Regions from separate parts of the Homo sapiens genome. Here region 2 is linked to region 1. The links are contacts of gene promoters, found by promoter capture Hi-C in blood cells and fetal thymus (Javierre and others, 2016). All regions are on one chromosome and are shown on one strand. Each heading gives the region's core, a stretch centred on a gene start or on the middle of the fragment in contact. The rest is flanking DNA. Distances are from core to core; before and after follow the strand shown. Region 1 holds the start of RPP25 (ribonuclease P/MRP subunit p25). Region 2 overlaps EDC3 (enhancer of mRNA decapping 3).

Evidence for each region. The method cuts DNA at HindIII sites, captures the fragments that hold promoters and counts their contacts. A CHiCAGO score of 5 or more calls a contact.
Region 2: a contact is called between a fragment that was not itself captured here and the fragment with the promoter of RPP25 in region 1, in 1 of 17 cell types (total CD8 T cells). The highest score is 6.0, in total CD8 T cells.

The regions. Positions count from the first base shown.
Region 1 is chr15:74,954,285-74,959,425 of GRCh38, forward strand. It overlaps RPP25 (ribonuclease P/MRP subunit p25), which reads right to left and starts at 2,488. Exons shown (of 1, transcript NM_017793.3): 1 at 134-2,488. The coding sequence starts at 2,299. The coding sequence ends at 1,700. RefSeq lists enhancers at 304-1,237, 1,238-2,171, 2,172-3,105, 4,100-4,656 and a silencer at 2,131-2,780. The HindIII fragment of the contact is 5,452 bases long and covers 350-5,141 here.
Region 2 is chr15:74,650,582-74,655,722 of GRCh38, forward strand. The region is part of intron 4 of EDC3 (enhancer of mRNA decapping 3); the gene reads right to left. Among named protein-coding and RNA genes, the nearest start is that of CLK3, 37 kb to the left of the region's middle. The HindIII fragment of the contact is 9,021 bases long and covers 1-5,141 here.

The sequences.
Region 1 (5,141 bases), core at 1,238-3,737:
CAAGAGCAGGAATTTGGGGAGAGCAACGAGGGACAAAGTCTGGATGACAAAGCTCACTCCAAAGCTCAAGCAGAGATACTGCAGGGGAGGGAAACCTCCCTAAGAGCCCCTCCAGTCAGCCACAGAACGTATCTCTTGTCACCAGCAGGATTTATTTCAGGGTTCTGCCAGCAAAATGACTTATAAATACATTCTTCCGCATCTCCCCCTTTCCAGGGGTGCTGCTGAGTTGCATGGGATGAGATCTGCTTCTGAGATCCTGGGGCTGTATGCCACCCCCAACTCACCAGAGCTCTTCCAGCACACAGCAGCACCCCCACCCCCCAGCTGGCTTGGAGTTGGGCAGAGAAGCTTATGAGGCTGTTATCTCTCAACAGACAGCTGTGCAGGGCTGGAGGCAGCAGCTTATCAGGAGGCCTGCAGTGATTCACAGCCCAAGACCCAGCTTCTCTGCTGAATAGTAATTTCCAGCAGTGGATTTGTGCTCAGTCTCTCTCCTCCCCCTTTCCCAAGGGTGTGCTGTCCTTTCTCAGAGAGAGGGCAGTGAAGGGGAGATCCTACCCACAGAGCTGGGGGCTTTGTGCCAGCCTTCTGGGTAAGGTTCAGTTTATTGTCTGGAGGCTGCAGATTCAGGGACCTCAGCAGGGTCTGCCACCCTTTGCAGTGACCTCCAGGAGAGTTCATCGATGCTGTCCTTCCACTCCTTCCTTCCCCTCCCAGAAAAACAATGTGCCGCTCCCTTTCCCTTAGTGGCGATGTACAGGGGTACACGGGCCCCCATTTGCAACAGCCTCTGAGGCCAGGGCCAGCCCGGGAGGGCGGAGTGGGGGAGGAGAGAGGAAGAAGCCAGGGACTGGGCAGTGCCTTGCACCATTTTGAAGCTGTTCAGTCTCTGTGCCTGACCCTGAAGACTCCAAAGACTCAGGACGCAAGGCTGGAGGGGAGGGGAGACACAAGGGGCCAGGCGAGAGCTGTCTCTGCACAGGCGGGTGGTTAGAAAAAAAATGGGGGACACAGCCATTTTTGTGCTTGTTTTATTGGAAGCAAGACTCCAGCCAGCTGCAGGGCTCAGGGGAGGAGGCCTGGAGAGTTCAGTCCTGGGTCTCCCTCTGGGCCAGCAGGGGGAAAAGGGGTGTTAAAAGAGCTAGAACCCTCAGAGATGCTCCTCTGAAGCAGGGGAAAGAAAACTAGAAAGGAAAACTGTCCCAGGGCGGGGAGCGGAATAGGGCCCCCACATCTCAGACTCTCCTACCCTCAAGCAGTTAATTCTCACCCCCTGCCTTCCTCTGTCAACGGTGGGGGTGATTCCAATAACTCTTCTCAGCTTCCATACTTCAGGTGCTCTTCGTGAATGCTGGGTGGCTTTAACCCTTGGGGGTCCCAAACAAGTTTCCAGAATCCCACTGTCCACCATTCTCCCCCAAAGAAGGTCCCAGAAAAGGTGAAGTTCCGTGTCTTCACGCAACACGGGCATAAGCAGCAATTATCGCACGAAGTTTCCCTAGGGTGGTCGGGGATCCTCTCCTGCCACTCCTGGGGCCCCTCTCTTGTCGCCTTAAGGTCCATGCTACCTGTCTTGAGGAGCTGTGTCCAGGTTGTGGGCTCCGGAGGACCGAGGAGTGAAAGGCTGGAGGTACATCTGAAGGTGGAGGCGCTGGCGGAAGATCCTGCCGGACTAGGTGGCCCACAGTCCGGAGTTTCAGGCCGTCTGATCCTCGTCCGCAACCCCTGGCTCGGGTTGCGATCGCTTCGCGGAGCCTTCTCCAGCTGCGGGTTCCCCTAGGCTCCTCTTGGACGCTGGCGCGGCTGGCGGGGACGAGGGACCAGGATGGGGATTCGGGGGCTGGTAGCCGGGCTGTCGCGGATCCAGCGCGTCCTTGGAAAGTAGGATGGCGAGGCCGGGCACGTTCTTAAGTACGCTGAGACTAGCGGCCGGCTCGCCAGGCGTCTGACCCTGCGTGGGCCCAGGCGGGAGGCTCTGCCACACCTCGCGTACGCTCCGGTAGCGCAGCCGCGTGACCTGGTGCAGGCCCGCCAGGCGGCGCTTGAGGATCTCGGCGCACGTGACGGTTTTGGTGGTGGCCCGGCCGCAGCCGCTGAAGACGATGGCGCGCGTGGCTGGCTGCGCCATGCTGGCGGTGGCGAAGGCCATCAGGTTCCGGATCTTGCTGCCTTCCTTGACCCGCATGTGCACCGCGCCCGGCGCCAGGTCTGCGAAGGGGCCGGAGCCCGGGCCGCCTCCCTCGGCCCCGCACCCCGCTGGCGCCTCTTCGGAGCGCACCTTACGGAAGTTCTCCATGCGCCGTCGTCGCCGGGACCGCCGGCTTTGCCATGGGGCGGCCTCAGCCCCGGGGCTGCATGGCCGCCGGTCGCGCCTTGCAAGGGCCAGCAGGGGTAAGGGCGCCGGAGCAGCGCAGACGCCGGCGGGCGGGCTGGGACGGCGCGATCTCGGCCCCACTTCTCTCGAGCGGGCGCCGCTCTACTCAGCGCTCTCGGCGCCGGGTGCTCCGCGCCTTTAGCTGAGGCCCCGCCCCTGCCGCCAGGCCCCTCCCCTGACCCGGCCCGGCCGGGCCCGCCCGGGCCCCAGCCTCACTAGCCTTTCCTGGCGAGTCTGGGTCCTCAGCTACGCGGGCGTGGGAGCGGGCGCGCTGCGGGGCGCATGAGCAGGTGAAGGTGAAGTTCCACTATAATCGCCATCAGCGCTCTGAGAGCCAACCCTCACAAACCGGCAGTCTAAATAAAAGCTGCGCTTGCCGTGCAAACACTGCTTCAAATCCGGTATCCGAGCCCTTCCCATTTGCAACTGAAGGCCGCCCCTCGTCCCCTCCCAGGGAGAGATTTCCAAGAGGCTTGCTGGGGCCTTGCCCCTCCTCCCCCGCCCCGGGGAACACCCCCACCTTTTTTCCGCTCCCAAGTATTCTTGCCTCAAGGACAGCTAGTGCGCGGTCAGCAGAGTGCGGGAGGAGCTGGCTGCGGCTCCACTCCGCGCCTCCCCGCGGGCGATTACGTCGCGGCGTGGTCCTCGCGGGGCGCGGAAGACCCAGACTTCAGCCTCGCCACGCCTGCCCGGAGCTCGAGGCTCCCGGACCCCCGTCCACCCCTGGGACGTGAGGAGTGAGGCTTTGGGCCAGGCTGTTCCCCGAGGCGCGTGGGGAAGCGGGCGTGACCTCTTCTGAAAAGGCGGTAGGCTCGCTCCACCCAGGCCCTAGAGCCCACCCTTAGAGCTGCGCGCTTTAGGGTGAGCCAGGCACGATGCCTTGCCAACGTGGCCGCCCCCTTCCTCCCAGGCGGAATTCGCTCAGGCAACATTGGCCCCTTGAGATCCAGTGGGGTCCTTTTCGAAAGGAGGCTAGGTGAACGCAGGTTTTAAAAAAGAGAAGGGAGGGGCCGGGCGCGGTGTCTCACGCTTTTAATCCCAGCACTTTGGGAGGCAGAGGTGGGCGGATTACTTGACGTCAGGAGTTCGAGACCAGCCTGGTCAACATGGTGAAACCCCGTCTCCATTAAACGTACAAAAATCAGCTCGGCGTTGTGGCACGCTCCTGTAATCCTAGCTGCTCGGGAGGCTGAGGCAGGACAAGCGCTTGAACCCGGGAGCTGAAGGCTGCAGTGAGCCGAGATCATGCCACTGCACTCCAGCCGGGGCGACAGAGCAAAGCTCTGTCTCGAAAAATGAATAAATTAATTAATTAAATAAAATACAAAAGAGAAGGGAGGGATACCCCATTCTCCAGGATGTGATTATTATGCATTGCATGCCTGTATCAAAACGTCTCATGTACCCTCTAAATATAGACACCTATTGTATACCCACAAAAATTAAAAAGACTTAAAAAAAAATAAAAGAGAGAAAGAAGGGAGGAAGATGGGGAGTTGAAGCCCTGGGGGCATTATGGAACTACTGGATGCCTCTCCGGCGGAAACTCCACGGGACCGAAAGAGAGGCCCGGGGTCTCCTGCCGGGTGAGAGAAGCATTAGAGAAAGATGAGATTGGGGGCTGTCAGGACTACTGATGGAAGGGAGGGGGTCTGAGAAGGGGCCCGACCCTCCCTAAAACTGCTCTCGGGATTCCCCCGTCCTCCTTCCACCCGCCCTACGCAGTCAGGACTGAGAGAGGGCGGCAGATCTGGTCCTAGCCAGGGGACTGTGACGGGGCGTGGCGGGGAGGGACACAGAGAGCTGGGGCGGGCGGGCCACCGGGAAAGTGCTGGGGGCATGACAGTGCCTTGGATTGCTGGGCCTCAGTTGGAGATGGGGCTGCCAGATGCTGTTCTCCCTCCTCCCGCTGTTCTCGCCCTCTGGGCATCTGCAGCAGCTCTCAGTCCCTGCTGTTCAAAACCAGGGTTTACTTCCTTGTCACTTCTTGGGAGCGGCCCTCGGTCCCTGCTGTTCAGAACCGGGATTTACCCTCTTACCACTTCCTGGGAGTGGCTGCGGCGACTGGACCTTGGCACCGCAATGTGTGAATGGCTGACCCCCTCCCCGTCTCCTGGTGGGATCAGGAACCCTCGGGGTATGCTCCGAACCGGGACTTCGGTCTCGGTCCAGTCTCCATGGGCCCCACACAGCGGTGGGGGCTGGAGGCACAGCAGCCTTGGGAAGAAACAAAGACTGTCCGCAGCGCGTAGCGGGGCGTGGAGAACCGAGGGCTGTGTAAGGTCAGGCCCTGAGAAAAAGCCCCCGAAAGGCTGGAAGTTACGTTGGAACGGGCTGGTTGTGGAAGGAGCGAGCTCTCCGTCCCCGGGAGTATGCAAGTTTGGGCTGCACGATCACTTGGAAGGGATTGGGCGGAGTTCTGTCATTTGGAGAAAGGGTCCTGGGAGCTTCAGGTTTGTGTAGGGCGAGGACGGGGCGGTTCTGCGTCCGGCCAGGTTGGCCCTCGAGGACCCAGCCGTCCCCAACCTCCTAAACTGCTGTCGGATGTAGAAGACTCGCATTCACTGCTCTCCACAGTCGGTGAAGGGAGAACGCCGAAAAGGGCCGCATTCCCTCCTGCCGGTCCCCTCCCCTTCCCGCGCTCCCTCTGCAGCACTTAAAATGTAAATGTACATCGTGATTAGCCGCGGGGTCGCTAATTACAGCTGAAGCCATTCATTACACTGTCAGCGCGCGTCGCAGCCCGCCGGCTGTGCGCTCCCTC
Region 2 (5,141 bases), core at 1,306-3,805, 300 kb before region 1:
CTCCTATTACATTTTCATAACTTAAAGGCAAGGACTATCTTAGAGTCAGTTACACATAATAAACATAATAAACACAGTGTTTTGACTGACCCAAACTGTCTTAAAGTATTTCCTTTAGAATACCATGAGTGTTAGGCCAGGCGCGGTGGCTCATGCCTGTAATCCCAGCACTTTGGAAGGACAAGGTGGGCAGATCACCTGAGATCAGGAATTCGAGACCAGCCTGGCCAATATGGTGAAACCCCATCTCTACTAAAAATACAAAAATTTGCCAGGTGTGGTGGTGTGTGCCTGTAATCCCAGCTACATGGGAGGCTAAGGCAGGAGAATCACTTGAACTCAGTAGGTGGAGGTTGCAGTGAGCTGATACTGCACTACTGCACTCCAGCCTGGGTGCCAGAGTAAGACTCTGTCTCAAAAAATAATAATAAAATTTAAAAAAAAATTAAAAAAAGAATCTTATGAGTGTTGAATAAAGATTCTTCTCTGAAGCCTTACCACTTTACTAAGCAGTATTCTTTGGGGAGTTCTCACCACTGAACACAGAGTGCTCACACACATCTAGTGTTTTATATTTAAACTTAACACATGCACGTAGAATCAGTCTTCAAAGAATTTCAAATTACAAGTCTGGATCCAGAAAGACCCTGGCCAATCCAGAGTGTGATCACTGGACACCATTATTTAGCAGGGCAGGCCCAAGCTAGAGAAATGTCTGATGATCCGTGACTGCGGGAGACAGAAGCCCTGCCAAAGAACCTGAAAGGAATTTCCAGAGAGAAAAAATTGGGGTTAAACAAAGAGCTAAATTTAGTTGCTTCCTGAATGTGTTTTCCCAATCAATAGACCTAAAACAACACTGTTCCCCATCACAACACACACAGCTGGCAAAGAGTACTGCCAAGAGGAGTATGAGCAATTAGTGAATAATAGCTTATGTACTGTTGGTTGACACCACTTAGCATGAAGTCAATATATAGGGCACCAGCAGCAAGCTGTCAGAATCCTAAATCCCAAGCCATCACCAAATGGGTAATAAATATGTTGTTCTTTTGCTACCATGGGGATTAGTACAAAAGTACTTGGTATTCTAGGACATGAATGCCACAAGGCCAGACTGCGGGAGCTCTCCAAGTTACTTCTGTAAACTGCTGGTCCATTCCTGAGAGACTGCAGTACTAAAGAAAAGACTACAGAGATGTCCCTCAACTTACAATGAGTGTTATCCCAATAAACCCATCATAAATTGAAAATATCTAAGTTGAAAATGCATTTAATACACCTAACCTACCAAACAAACATCATAGTTCAGCCTAGCCTACCTTAAACCTGCTCAGAACACTTACACTAGCCTACAGTTGGGCAAAATCATCTGGCAAAACAGTACACTGTAGAATACTGGTTGTTTACTCTCATGACTGCACGGCTGACTGCTTTGACTCCTGCTGCTGCCCAGCATTAGAGAATATCATACCTGCATATCGCTAGCTCAGGAAAAGATCTAAATTAATAATTTCAACTACAGTTTCTACTGACTATTGCTTTCACATCATCCTAGAATCAAAAAATGATAAGTCTAACCATTGTAAGTTGGAGGATCATCTGTAGTCTATTTGCCATTAAACTGCCCTTCTCTTCTTATATTTTTCCTTTTTTTTTTTTTTGAGACAGAGTCTCGCTCTGTCACCCAGGCTGGAGTGCAGTGCTGCGATCTCCGCTCACTGCAAGCTCCGCCTCCCAGGTTCACGCCATTCTCCCGCCTCAGCCTCCCAAGTAGCTGGGACTACAGGCGCCCACCACCATGCCCGGCTCATTTTTTTGTATTTTTAGTAGAGACGGGGTTTCACCGTGTTAGCCAGGATGGTCTCCATCTCCTGACCTCGTGATCCACACGCCTCAGCCCCCCAAAGTGCTGGGATTACAGGCATGAGCCACTGCGCCTGGCCTTTTCCTCATTTTTATTCACATTTAGAAGAGAAAAGGAGATGTGATGGGTAAGGTTTTTGTGTTTTTTTTTTGAGACAGGGTCTGACTCTGTCACCCAGGCTGGAGTACAGTGGCATGACTTTGGCTCATTGCAGCCGCAACCTCATGGGCTCAGACGCTCCTACTTCAGCCTCCTGAGTAGCTGGGACTACAGGCACATGCCACCGTGCCCAGCTAATGTTTTCTATTGTTTGTAGAGACAGGGTCTCACTTTGTTGCCCAGGCTGGTCTTGAACTCCTGAGTTCAAGCAATCCTCCCACCTTGGCCTCCCGAAGTGCTGGGATTACAGGCATGAGTCACTGCACCTGGCCAATGGAAAACCCTTTACCAGCTGGGCGTGGTGGCTGACGCCTGTAATCCCAGCACTTTGGGAGGCCAAGGCAGGCAGATCACTTGAGGCCAGGAGTTTGAGACCAGCCTGGCCAACACGGTGAAACCTCGTCTCTACTAAACATACAAAAATTAGCCAGGCATGGTGGCAGGTGCCTGTAATCCCAGCTACTCAGGAGGCTGAGGCAGGAGAATCGCTTGAACCTGGGAGGTAGAGGTTGCGGTGCGCTGAGAGCTGAGATCACGCCACTGCACTGCAGCCTGGATGACAAAACAAGACTCTGTCTCCAAAAAAAAAAAAAAAACCTTTACCTCTCTGGGCCTCATGTCCTCATCTGTAAAATGAAAAAATCATACTAGGTGATCAACTAACCTAACACTAACATTTTATGCTTTTAGACTGTTTCCCTATATATTCTAGTTTGCCTTTTTTGATCCAAACATTTGGATAGCAGATCCAATGGAGAAAGTGTCCCCAGCTCTGCACTGACTGCCCCTCAGTGAAAACCTGCTTGAGGATTGTGCCTTGGAACTCGAACACAGAGAAAACCCCCCTGTAGAAGAAGTTGCTCAGTAAGATAACTGCCTGCTTGCTCTATTTCCAGCACAGACGCTGCTTGGCAAAAGGGCTTCCTTTCCACTCCTTGTCACTGTTAAGAACAAAGAGAAAAACCAGATGGCATGAAGCTGCTGGGCTTCTTTCCCCCTCATTGTCATGAACCAGTGGAGTGCAACTGGTCACTACATACCACAAGACGCCACACCCAAGTTTCTGGCTAAGGACCAGCACATGTGGTTTGTGGTATGTTTATTGATAGGAAAATAATTTTATATGACAGAACTTTTCACTTCAGTCATTAAAAACAAAAGAAGTGTGAAGATCAAGTTGGGGAGCCAGAGTGTGTAGCAGAAAAAAATTTCTACCTCTGCTTTTGTCCATGTTAGTAAATATTTTCTCATGCTCTGTTAGTTCTGAGAATTCTCCCTGATTCTCACTGTTATTCTCACTCTTAGCCACTTGACTCCAGGGCAGATCATAATCTTCCCAAGTTAAAAAAATCCTGCAGTGTAGGGCTGGGCGCGGTGGCTCACACCTGTAATCCCAGCGCTTTGGGAGGCCAAAGCAGGTGGATCACGAGGTCAGGAGTTCAAGACCAGCCTGGCCAACATAGTGAAACCCCATCTCTACTAAAAATACAAAAAAATTAGCCAGGCATGGTGGTGTGTACCTGTAGTCCCAGCTACTCAGGAGGCTGAGGCAGGAGAATCGCTTGAACCCAGGAGGTGGAGGTTGGCAGTGAGCAGAGATTGCGCCATTGCACTCCAGCTTGGGCAACAGAGTGAGACTTCGTCTCAAAAAAAAAAAAAAAAAATCCTGCAGTGTAAATAGTTCCAGGGAAATCACACGCTGCATAAACCAACAGCCTCAGCAGCAGCACTTGGACTACAGATATAGAGAGCTAGCAGCAGGAGCAGCTTCTTTTACAAAGAGGGCAGTAAAAAAGGAAGCAGTCAGAGGTAGATAGTTGGCTGATCTGGAGGAGTACCAGACTTAACAGATGATAACTGCCTTTGAAAGGCTTAAAACCTAGCAATTTAAATTAAACCCGATTCTGAGCTAGGCTGTTTGCCTTTACACAGGTGTTAAAAATCGAAGGACTTCGGCAAGTTACAGTGTCACTGTCACTGCCACTTAAGGAAACCACCTTAATAAACAGGCATGCCTACCAGAATCTGCCAGCAAAAGACTGACACAGTTCAGCAGCTTGTTTTTTTTTTAGCAGTCTTTCTTAGCCTGACAGTTGGCCTATTTTTTTTTTTCACATGGAAAGCACATGCAAGCTACTATACTCAGCGAAACCAAATACAACAGAGTCCTACTATTATCTATAAAAAAAAAGCCATGTCTGGCTTTCCTCCAAATGCAATTAGCTGCGTCCACAGTTCTCCTTATAGCAGCTACCAGCATTCAAGATTTATATTCCTTATATTCCAAACTTCAAACCAAAATAAAAATATTATACTCAATTCCTTCTCTACTTACTAAAATGATTATGACTTCCCCTTTAGCTCTTAGGATCATTCAATAACAATGGTTTTCAAACCATATTCCAAGAGGCCCAGTTAGTAATGTGGTTTGAGGGGAAGGGATGGGACACGGATGTGATGAATTACCTCTCTCACACTGCTTTAATCTGTTTTATATGCCATAGGTTTGAAGAAAAGGTTCTAATGCTAAAAAAAGAAACAATAATCACTGAGGTAATAGAACTAGATTATCATCTACAATGACCTACATAAGGCACTACACTGTTACATGAAATTAGCCAACTTTCAATGTCCTGGGCTAACAGGAGATAAGAACAGCATAGTAAAGAAATGTAATTTATTAAAACTCTATTTTTAGCCAATGATTCCAATCATCCATCTTCAACTGTTTTTTTGCAACAACAAATAATTAGTAAAACAGAGTTGAAGTCTGGTGAAATGTATGGGCAGTAATAGAGAAGCCAAAGTGAAAATAGATCTGAATATTTGAATCTACATAGCAGGCCCTTTGCCTTTAGTTGTTACTCACAGCATACTAAATAAGTGGCAGGCCATATCCTACCAGATACAGGATATACACAGACATCTACAGAAATTACCCCTCCACCATGGCAGAATGCTGTTATTGGCTGCAATCCCCAAGAGACAATAATACCGGGCCAGCCACCAAGCCACTTAAATTAATTCCTAGTGTGAGATTCTGACTCAGAAGCCAGGTCTTTCTGTTTCAAGCATAATAGAAAGGCAACAGCAACCAGCAGGATGTGGGACCTGA